Linked DNA regions of Homo sapiens: regions 1, 3 and 4 are each linked to region 2. Evidence: promoter capture Hi-C in 16 types of primary human blood cells and fetal thymus (Javierre and others, 2016). All regions are on one chromosome and are shown on one strand. Each heading gives the region's core, a stretch centred on a gene start or on the middle of the fragment in contact. The rest is flanking DNA. Distances are from core to core; before and after follow the strand shown. Region 1 has its middle 54 kb from the start of ARG1. Region 2 holds the start of EPB41L2 (erythrocyte membrane protein band 4.1 like 2). Region 3 has its middle 35 kb from the start of ARG1. Region 4 has its middle 6.9 kb from the start of ARG1.

Region 1 (2,700 bases), core at 143-2,642, 460 kb before region 2:
GCTCCTCCCTTAGTTGAAGGAATTTATCCCACCAGTTTCAAGCAACCAGTGGAGGCATGTGGACCCCAGCACTGCTTGACTGGATTTGGAGTGTGAACCACACCTCCCTTCCCTTGCAAAGAACTTGGTGCAGCAGCAAACCCTCCACTTCACAACTGGGTATATTTCCAGTCACTCAGTGTACCTGCTTGCCTGAAATAGGAGCCTGAGCTGCCTCTTCCCACCCCCACACCCACTCCCCACTCCCTCGCCAAGATCCTGTTGTAGCAGCAGTTACTCCACTCTGCAGCAGGTACTCCTTTCCTCTCTGGGGGACATATTTCCAGGTATTTGGCTCACCCTGGACATATCTCCAGGCATTTGGAGCATCCACTTTTCTAGATTGAGAGTCTAGGTTGTCCCTCCTTTCCTGGGCAGAGAACTTGGGGAAGTGGAGATTTCTTCACTCCATGCCCAGGCACATCTATGGGCAGTTGGCAGCTGCCTCCCAGACTCCCTTTTAACCTAGCACTTATGCCTGCCATTGGGGTATGTATAGGCAGGCTTGGCTGGTCTGGCCCTGCCCAGCTTGATACCTCCATCTGGGGAGTGAGCAGGGAGCTTAGACCACTGTACATTCCACAAAATTGCCCATTGCATGAGGCAGCAGAAGACATCTCAGGGTAAACAAAGATCAAGCCTATATCGGTGTCAGCCACAATTAGCTCTTATCCATAAGTGCCACCCACTGGCCTAAAGGATGAACTGCACAACTCAACAGAAAATCTGTTGACACAAGCACACAGCACTAGGGAATGAGATAAGCTTCCTGAGACCTCCACCATACCAGCCTCTCAAGAGGTAGTGAGCCTGCTTACATACCCAGTACATTGCTACTACAACCAGCATCTGAGAAATCCACTACACAAAGATTACCTACAACCATGGAACCTAAACAGAGCCTTTGCCGCTGAAAGCACCCAGAACCAAACCCAAAGGATGCTACAAAACACACATGACAGCTTGAGGGGGGAGAAGTCCCATTCAAGCAAAAGTAATTCAGAAATAAGAAGGAGAAAATGCTTATTCAGATGAGAAGGAACCAGAGAAACAATTCTGAAAGTATGAAAAAAAAAAACAGAGTGTTACAATACTCTCAAAGGACCACAATAATTCTCCTGCAACAGATCCTAATCAAAATGAAATAGTTGAAAGACCAAATGAAGAATTCAAAATATTGAATTTAAAAAAGCTCAATGATATCCAAGAGAAAGGTAAAAACCAATACAAAGAAATTGGAAAAAAAAATTTAGGACATGAAATAAGAGATAGATATTATTAACAAAAACCAAACAGAACTTCTGGAAATAAAGTACTTGTTGGAGAAATTACAAAATGCAGTTGAAAGTTTCAACAATAGACTTTACCCAGCAGAAAAAAGACTTTTAGACCTGGAAGACAGGTCTTTTGAATTAACCCAGCCAGACAAAAATAAAGAAAAAATAACTTAATAATAGTGAACAAAGCCTTTGAGATATATGGAACTATGTAAAGGGACCAAGCCTGCAAGTTATAGGTATTCCAGAAGGAGAAGAAGAAAAAGTAAAAAGTATAAAAAGTATAGTTGAGGAAATAATTCAGGAAAACTTCCCTGGTCTTGCTGGAGATCTAGACATTTAGATACGTGAAGTTTAGAGAACTCCTGGAAAATACATTGCAAGAAGAATCTCACTAAGACATATTGTCATTGGACTGTCCAAAGTCAACCTGAAGGAAAAAATCCTGAAAGTATCAGACTATCCAAAGTCAACATGAAGGAAAAAATCCTGAAAGTGGCAAGAGAGAAGAGTACAATTACCTATAAAGGAAATCTCAGCAGATTAACAGCAGACTTCTCAGCTGAAACCTTACAAACCATTAGAGGCTGGGGTCTTAATTTCATTCTTCTTAAATAAAAGTTATGCCAGCCAAGAATTTTATGTCCTGCTAAACTAAGCTTCATAAGTGAAGGAGAAATAAAGTCTTTCCCAGACAAACACAGGGAATTCATCACCTCTAAACTGGTCTTACAAAAAATGCTCAAAGGAGTTCTAAACATGGAAATTAAAGGGTGATACCTTCCTAAAAACACGAAAGTATACAACTCATGTATCTCATAAAGCAATTACACAATTGAGAATTTAAAGCAACTAGGTAATAATTAACATTATGACAAGAACAAAACCTCACATTTCAAATGTAAATGGACTTAAACGTAAATGAAATAAATGCTCTAATTAAAAAAAAATAGGCTGATGGAACAGATTAAAAACAAAATCCAACGATATGCTGCATACAAGAAACCTACCTAACTGGTAAAGATATTTACAAACTCAAAGTAAAGGAGTGGAAAAAATACTTCACACAAATGGAAACTAAAAGTGAGCAGGGATAGCTATACTTAAATCAGACAAAACAGACTTTAAATCAAAAGCAGTTAAAAAAAACACAAAGAAGCATATTATATAATGATAAAGGGATCAATTCAACAAGAAGAGATAATAATTCTAAATATATATGCACCCAATAGCAACACCAGAGCACCCAGATTCTTAAATACTACTAGACCTGAGAAAGAAAATAGACACCAATACAGTAATAATGGAGAACTTCAATACCCCACTGACAGCACTAGACAGATCATCAAGGTAGAAAATCAACAAAGAAATTCTGAACTTAAAT
Region 2 (2,700 bases), core at 39-2,538:
TTCTCATTAAATTCCCAGGTCTCCTTTACCAGAATTGCTGTCTAATCAGATTTCTGCTCTGTTTTAGCACACCTTATAAAATTTAACTTGTATACTTAGCATATGGGATTGTGATTAAATTAATACATGTAAGGGACTTAGAACAATGCCTAGCACATAAAGCACACAATCAACCTTAACTATTATTATTTGTATTATTTACTAGAAGGACCTTGGCAAATAATTTATCTTCCCAAATCTTTTTGATGTAATGGAGCTCAAACGTGCCTGCCTTTTTCATAGGGTGATTGTGAGGATCAAATGATGATAAAATATGTGAATGTATTTTGTTAACTGGAAGGTATTGTTACTGAGGTTTCATTTGACATTGTTAATTTTGGAAAAGGTTCTGTTTAGGAAAGAAAGGGAGACGACTTTGGCTGTGGTGGAATCACTAAAGACCTCAATAAAAGTGGGAGGAGTAAAAGGGATAAGAGGTGCGTGTGAGGCAGATGCTGGAGGCAGTGAGCTGGACACGTTGTTTGACACCAGCTTGACGTGCAAACCTTCAAAAGATGAAATATATTGAATCTGAAACATATTGACCTCATTGTACAAAAGAAAAGAACCAGAAGGGTAGCGTGTGTGTGCTTGTGGCTTTCCACAATTTAGCCCCAAACTAGGTTTTTTCCAGACTCTTCTTCACCCGTGGTCATGCTCTGCAATCCAGATTCCCAGGCCTCTGCCCAGAGAAATCCTACTTACTCTGGGGAGGCCTTTCCTCCACGGGGTTTCCCCAACCCCTCCTGTCCCTCCCACAGGAAGAATAAATGGTTCCTTTTCAATGCCCTTCCTGTGAAAGCACTTTTTCCACTCTAGACTGAGGGAGACCCAGTTTTCCTTATTCTGCATCTCCAGGCTCTGCTCCAGTGTTTACCTCTAGGAAGGCGCTCAGTGAAGGTTTAGTCAGCAAATGCACTTTGAATAAATAACTTTTAAAAGTTGAGAGGACATTTAAGGCCGGGAATCGCAGTTGAGAACGCCTTGCCCAGGCGCATTAGCTGTCATCCGGGCTGCCCTGAGGGCGAAAGACGTCCTCCACCCCCGGGTCTCCGCGGCCGCGCTTGCCGAATCCCGCGGGAAAGGTCCCCCGCCCGCGCAGGGGCGGGGCCTGGGCGTCGGGGGCGGGACCGCCCGCGGGGGTTTCCGCGCCGGGGGCTCGTCCGGCGGGGTCGCGGGAGGGGCTTCCGCCGCGAGGGGGCGGGGCCGGCCCTCAGAGTCCTCTGACGGCCCCAGTCAGGGAATTTCAATTTGAAACCTAGCGGAGGGAGGAGGCAGGCGCGGCTGCCGGCGGCTGGGACTGAAGAGGGACGGGTCCCGCGGCGAGCGAGCTCCTGAGGTACGGCGTCGGGGTAAGGAGGCGTGCGGGGCTGCACGGGCCGGGCGACTGGTCAGTGTGGGGTTGCAGGGGCGGCTCAGATTTTTCCTCTGGCTGCAGCTGGGAAGCTGATTCCGGGCAGGAAGCGGTGGCGGGACGGTCCCACCGGGATGGGGGGCGGGGAGAGGGGGCCCGGCTTTGGGATTTTCTGCGGCTCCCTCTCTCCTTTCCTTCCCGGTCTCTGCCCGACCCGATTCTTGCCCGGGGGTCCGGGTCCTGTTGCTCCGGGCCGGATCCCGGCTTCGCTGCTCCCCGCGGTCCCCCTCTTCCCTCTTCCGGGGGACCGGGGCCGCGTCCCGGCGGAGCCAGGAAAGGCGGGGGCACGGGGAGGACGCCGTCCCCCCCGGGGTGCCGTGGGCTCAGGTCACGCGTCCGGGCCCCGTGGAGCAACAGCGGGAAAAATCCGGCTCCATCCCCCCCGCGGGGAGGGGGTCGGCCGCGGCGTCGCCCTTCAGGAGGAAGGTTTTAGGAGGGGAAGCGCGGGCCGGCCGCGCGCGTGGGGACTGCGGGAAGCCGGGCGAGGGCGGCGCGCCAGCCCCACGCGCGGTGCGGGTCGGGCCCGCTGTAGGCTCGCGTCCGCGCCCCCAGCTGCCGCCTGCGCCGTCTGGGAGCTGCGGAGAGGGACGCGTGTTTCGTGCTCCGATCCTTACAATTCCCACACCCAGGCCATCTCACCACAGATGGCTTGTTTTTTCTCCTCCTGCGCCTGGGGGCCGAGGGTTGGGAGCATTTTTAGGTGAGCAGCGGGGAAGGGCGAGGAGAACCTAAAGGAGCGCGACAGGGTTGAAGTCGGCGTCTGGGGACGCCATCCCCAGGCGCAGACGCTGCCCCCAGCAGCCTGAGGTCTGTGGTGGGACATCAGTTATGCTTCTCTAGATCGCTCACCTCCCCTGAGGTCAAGTTTTTTTTTTTATATATATGTATAAATAAAATGAGGTTTGGTGAGAAGAACTACTGCCTAGAGTCTATTATTTTGGGGAGGGGTCTGCGTATGGAGCCCTCCCTACGGACCCGGGTAGTCTTTCATTGAATTGCCCCATCAACACCACAGCTGCCCTTAATTTTAAGATCCCTGGGTGGATGGGAGAGAAGGTGGAATCTAGAGGAGCTGTGGCTATATTTTCGCTTTTCTGAATCACATCTTTCCCCAGTTTCTTGAACTTCTTGCCTCTGAAATGGCATGTGTGTGCCAGGCGTCTTGTTCCTCTTGTTACTGTTATTTAAGCTGTTTTAAAAAAACGACTTTCGCGGTTTTCCCCTCAGTTTTTCAGTCTTTATTTCCT
Region 3 (2,700 bases), core at 23-2,522, 470 kb before region 2:
CACTGCTCTCTTCAGAACCGTCAGGCAGGGATGTTTAAGTCTGCTGAGGCTGTGCCCACAGCTGCCCCTTCCCCCAAGTGCTCTGTCCCAGTGAGATGGGGGTTTTACCTATAAGCCCCTGACTGGGACTGCTGCCTTTTTTTTCAGAGATACCCTGCCCAGAGAGGAGGAATCTAGAGAGGCAGTCTGGCCACAGTGGCCTTGCTGAGCTGCAGTGGGCTCCACTCAGTTTGAACTTCCTGGTAGCTTTGTTTACACTGTGAGGGTAAAATCCCCTATTCAAGGCTCAGTAATGGTGGACGCCCCTCCCTCAACCAACCTCGAGCACCCCAGATCGACCTCAGACTGCTATGCTGGCAGTGAGAATTTCAAGCCAGTGGATCTTAGCTTGCTGGGCTCTATGGGGGTGGGGCCCACCAAGCCAGACCTCTTCGCTCCCTGGCTTCAGCCCCCTTTCCAGGGGAGTGAATGGTCCTGTGTTGCTGGTGTTCCAGGCACCACTTGGGTGTGGAAAAAAAAACCTCCTGCAGCTAGCTTGGTGTCTGCCCAAACAGCTGCCCAGTTTTGTGCTTGAAACCCAGGACCCTGGTGGTGGAGGCACCGGAGGGAATCTCCTGGTCTGCGAGTTGTGAAGACTGTGGGAGAAGTGCAGTATCTCGGCCTGAGTGCACCATTCCTCATGGCACGGCACAGTCCCTCATGGCTTCCCTTGGCTAGGGGAGAGAATTCCTTGACCCCTTGTGCTCCCTGGGTAAGGCGATGCCCCACTCTGCTTTGGCTCACCCTCCATGGGCTACACCCACTGTCCAACCAGTCCCAGTGAGATGAACTGGGTACCTCAGTTGGAAATGCAGAAATCACCCGCCTTCCACATCAATCTCACTGGGAACTGCAGACGAGAGCTGTTCCTATTCGGCCATCTTACCAGCAATGCTTGGGATGCATTCTAAGGACAAAATACTGACAAAAATTTTTAAACTTTTTTCAATGGTAATATTGGTATTGTTTCTTAAAATTATTTTCTTTACATTATAGGAAAAAATACAAAAGGAAAGAGATACATTTATAAAATTAAAGAAATCAAGTAAAAACACTGTATTGCTAAAGCTGAAAATATCAGTATGAACTCATGTTCTTAAAAATGTATATCTTCCAGCTTCCAACTCTGTCCATGGTATATCCAAGATGCAATGTCACTGCATTAGCAACTGGCTCTCTTAAAAAGGTGAATTTGACTGTCTTAGTCTGTTTGTGCTGCTATAACAAAATATCTGAGACCAGGTGATTTATAAAGTACACAGTTCTATTTTCTCACAGTTCTGGAAGCTGGGAAATTCAAGATTAATGTGCCAGCAGGTTCAGTTGTCTGGTGAGGGCTGCTCTCTTCTTCCAAGGTGGTGCTTTGTTGCCGTGACCTCCAGAGAGGAGGAACACTCTGTCTTTATGTGGTAGAAGGGATGGAAGGGCCACAGAGGAGGAATGCTTCATCCTCACATGGCAGAAGAGTGGAAGAGAGCAAACCCACTCCCTCGAGTCCATTTATAAGTTCTATTTATAACCCCCTCCTTGAAGGCTCTGCCCTTATGACTTAATAACCTCTTAAAGACCCCATCTCTTAATACTACTACATTGGCAGTTCAGTTTCAACATATGAATTTTGGTGAGTGCACCATCATTCAAACCAAAGTACTTATATGATTCCCCACTGAAGGTATTCAGATCTTGTGCCCAAAAGCAAGCAAAGAAACTCATAAAGATTAATGGAGTCCTATCAAAGGGACTCAGAAGCCAGCTTAAAGTGTCTTCTGATTACATTTGTGACCATTTGAACAACCACCCCTGCCCTGATTGTAGTTTTTTGAAATTCATTAAATTTATTAAAAATCAGAGTTTATAATGACATTAACAAAAGGGGAAGTCAGAAAAAAAGGATATCACATATCACTAATTAAAATAATTATTAAACTAATTCTTTATTCTCAAAATTTGTGAGTAATGGGAAAGAATAAACAATTCATCCTTCTTTTAAGCAGGGACTGTATCACAGGGTAAACAGAAAGCTCCAGTTAATAAGGAATGTCCCCAATCAACACATGTGAAGTGACAGAATTAGGAAATAATCATTTGGCAACAATTAAATCAACCAGTCAGGCCATGAACTGGTGTTGACACTATTAGATGAATGATGGGTAGGGAACTAGACACCTATATGAGGCCATGATAACCACACAGAGATTAGTTTCTTCTTGCAATGGAGGGTTCAAGATGTTATCCCCACTCTCAGTGGTCTCTCTCAGCATCCCACTGGTGGACAACCAGATATTGTGGGCCTATTAATGAGATGCAATATGAAGTAAAACACATCATCTGTGACGTAGTCTAGCCCAAATCTAATAGAGCCTTTATATCTAAATTCCAATGTACAGAAACAAGCTAAATGATACCACAAAGAAACAATCAGAGACATCCAGAATTTGGTGTATTTTCTTCATTATGAGTTATTCTCTTCAGCAAGACAGTGTCATTAAAATGTGACTGGCCTGATTAAAAGGGGCAAGAAATGGCAGTTAGATGCAATGTGTGGTCTCAAATTGGATCCAGTTTTGGACAAGCCAAGTATACGTGATTTGGGGGACATTTAGGGAAATTTAGATGTGGGCTGGTTATTAGATAAGATGACTATTTTAAAATAATGTGTTT
Region 4 (2,700 bases), core at 42-2,541, 500 kb before region 2:
TTTTCAGATTTCTCTCTTTTACTTTGACATTCTGTAGCCTTGGTGTGATGTATCTTGGTATAGATTTTTATATATCATTTTTGGATTTCATATATCCTTCTTGGATTTTCTAGGCCTGATGGATGTGTTAATTTGTATTATTTATCAATTTTTTACAAAAATCCTGGCTGTGTTGTTGTTGTTGTTGTTGTTGGGCAGCCTTCTGAGCCAGGGTAGGCTCAGAGACTCTGAAATCCTGGCTATTTTTATGTGAGCTTCCCATTCTCAGAAGCTGAAAGTCTACAGGTATATTTTTGAAAATAGACAAAATTCAGTGGGAAGTTTAATTTATGATATTTGAGTGACATTTCCCAAATGGAGAAGTAAATAGGAGACCCATTCTCCGTATAGACTCTCTGAAGATTTGACTGAAGACATGTCTGCAAGGAGGCCTTGCTCTTTAGTTCTTCAGGATCAAGAACAAATAAATTGGAGTGATGGCTGAGATCGTGGAACATCTTCACTTGGCAGAGTCTAGCACCTTCAAAGCTATTCAGTTTTTTTAGCCTATGTGCTATAAATCATCTGATGAAGGACAGAATTCTTCTGGCATACCTAACTGCACACCTATATTCTGTGGGTGGTTTGGAACAAATATTCCTACTAAGGAAGAGGTGAGCTGATGAAGTCAGAAGACTCTACACATCTAGATTCTTTAATAATTAATCAGCCAATAAGTATTTACTAAATAATCATTTTACTTAGTGCTTGCTTCCATGCTGTTTGCTATTTGGGATCCAGGAAAATAATATATGATCAGTACCCTTAACTCAGGATCAGCTTCCCCAAAATTGCCATGTATCTTAGTCTCCTTTCCCCTGGTACAGTTCCTCAGTTTTTCTTTGTCCTACATCAACTTCAGACTTTTGAAGAGTCTCTCAACTTAAATTCATCCGAGGTCTTCTTTAATTAAATTCAAGGTTTGCATTTGTTCAAGAATACTACAAAAGTAATGTGGTGTACTTCTCAGTGTATCACATTAGGAGGGATTTGACGTTGGTCTGTCCCATTACTGTCCCATTACTTTAATCACGTGGTTAAAGTAGTACCTCTCAAGTTTCTCCTCTGCAAATTTGCTATTTTTCCTTTGTAATAAATAAGTATCTTGTGGGGGCAATACTTTAATATTATATAATTATCCTCTTTGTCATCACACTTTGACCCACTAAGCTTAGCATCCATTGATGATTCTTGACTAAAGTAAATTACTGCTGTGATATTTGCCAGATGGTAATTGTCTATTTCCATCATTTTATGTTATTTAAAAAAAATGAATTCTAGTTAATAAACTTGATAGATTTAATTTCTCAATGAAATTGAGAAATGTAAGCTTCATTAATATTTATCAATTTATAGTTGATATACAAAAATATACATATCTAATGTATGCTTTTTTTTTTTTTGAGATGGAGTCTTGCTCTGTTGAACAGGCTGGAGTGCAGTGGTGCGATCTTGGCTCACTGCAACCTCCACCTCCTGGGTTCAAGTGATTCCCCTGCCTCAGCCTCCTGAGTAGCTGGGATTACAGGCTCATACCACCATGCCCGGCTAATATTTTGTATTTTAAGTAGAGAAGCGGTTTCACCATGTTGGTCAGGCTGGTCTCGAACTCGTGACCTTGTGATCTACCCGCATTGGCCTCCCAAAGTGCTGGGATTTACAGGCGTGAGCCACCGCACCTGGCTTAATGTATACATTTTAATGAGCTTGGACATATGCATACATCCATGATACCATCACCACATATAAGACACTAACTCCAAAAAAGAGAAAAAAATTGTAAATACTGTAAAGCAAAAATAAAAAAGTAAAGGAAAAAGTATATGTTTGAAACACTTTGAGCAACAAAGGACCAATGGCCCTAATGAAAAGGCGCTCTTAAAAATCATTAAGGAGACTTAAATCTAAGACCTCAAAACTATGAAACTGCTACAAGAAAACATTGGGGAAAATCTCCAGGATGTTGGTCTGGGCAAAAATTTCCTGAGTAATATACCCCACAAGCACAGGCACCAAAGCAAAAATAGACAAAGGATCAGATCAAGTTAAACAGCTTCTGCACAGCAAAGGAAACCATCAACAAAGTGAAGAGACAACCTGCAGAATGGGAGAAAATATTTATAAACTACCCATCTGACAAGGGATTAATAACCAAAGTATTTAAGGAGCTCAAAGAACTCTAGGAAAAAAACTAATCACCCGATTAAAAAATGGGCAAAAGATTTGAATAGATAGTTCTTAAAAGAAGACATACAAATGACAAACAAGCCTATGAAAAGGTGCTCAACATCACTGATCATCAGTGAAATGCAAATCAAAATTACAATGAGATATTACCTCACCCCAGTTAAAATGGCTTTCATCCAAAAGACAAGCAATAACAAATGCTGGTGAGGAAGTGGAGAAAAGGGAACCCTCGTACACTGTTGGTGGGAATGTAAATTAGTACAACCACTGTGGAGAACAGTTTACAGGTTCTTCAAAAAAGTAAAAATAGAGCTACCACATGATCCAGCGATCTCACAGCCAAAACAAGGGAAATCAGTATATTGAAGAGATACCTGCCCTACCATGTTTATTGCAGCACTATTCATAAAAACCAAGATTTGGAAACAACCTAAGTGTCCATCAACAGATGAACAGATAAAGAAAATGTGTTAT

The links. Contacts are between HindIII fragments. The CHiCAGO score rates a contact against its expected background, and 5 or more counts as called.
Region 1: a fragment that was not itself captured here is called in contact with the fragment with the promoter of EPB41L2 in region 2 in 4 of 17 cell types (non-activated CD4 T cells, fetal thymus, total CD8 T cells and 1 more); the score reaches 5.8 in non-activated CD4 T cells.
Region 3: a fragment that was not itself captured here is called in contact with the fragment with the promoter of EPB41L2 in region 2 in 1 of 17 cell types (fetal thymus); the score reaches 7.7 in fetal thymus.
Region 4: a fragment that was not itself captured here is called in contact with the fragment with the promoter of EPB41L2 in region 2 in 2 of 17 cell types (total CD8 T cells and M1 macrophages); the score reaches 5.8 in total CD8 T cells.

What each region holds. Positions count from the first base shown.
Region 1 is chr6:131,517,792-131,520,491 of GRCh38, reverse strand. No RefSeq gene overlaps it. Among named protein-coding and RNA genes, the nearest start is that of ARG1, 54 kb to the left of the region's middle. The HindIII fragment of the contact is 1,171 bases long and covers 807-1,977 here.
Region 2 is chr6:131,061,833-131,064,532 of GRCh38, reverse strand. It overlaps EPB41L2 (erythrocyte membrane protein band 4.1 like 2), which reads left to right and starts at 1,288. Exons shown (of 20, transcript NM_001431.4): 1 at 1,288-1,378. It overlaps LOC105378004 (a long non-coding RNA gene), which reads right to left and starts at 1,130. Exons shown (of 3, transcript XR_942993.3): 1 at 917-1,130. RefSeq lists silencers at 1,052-1,391, 1,732-1,831. The HindIII fragment of the contact is 3,039 bases long and covers 1-2,700 here.
Region 3 is chr6:131,536,486-131,539,185 of GRCh38, reverse strand. No RefSeq gene overlaps it. Among named protein-coding and RNA genes, the nearest start is that of ARG1, 35 kb to the left of the region's middle. The HindIII fragment of the contact is 9,527 bases long and covers 1-2,700 here.
Region 4 is chr6:131,565,000-131,567,699 of GRCh38, reverse strand. No RefSeq gene overlaps it. Among named protein-coding and RNA genes, the nearest start is that of ARG1, 6.9 kb to the left of the region's middle. The HindIII fragment of the contact is 160 bases long and covers 1,212-1,371 here.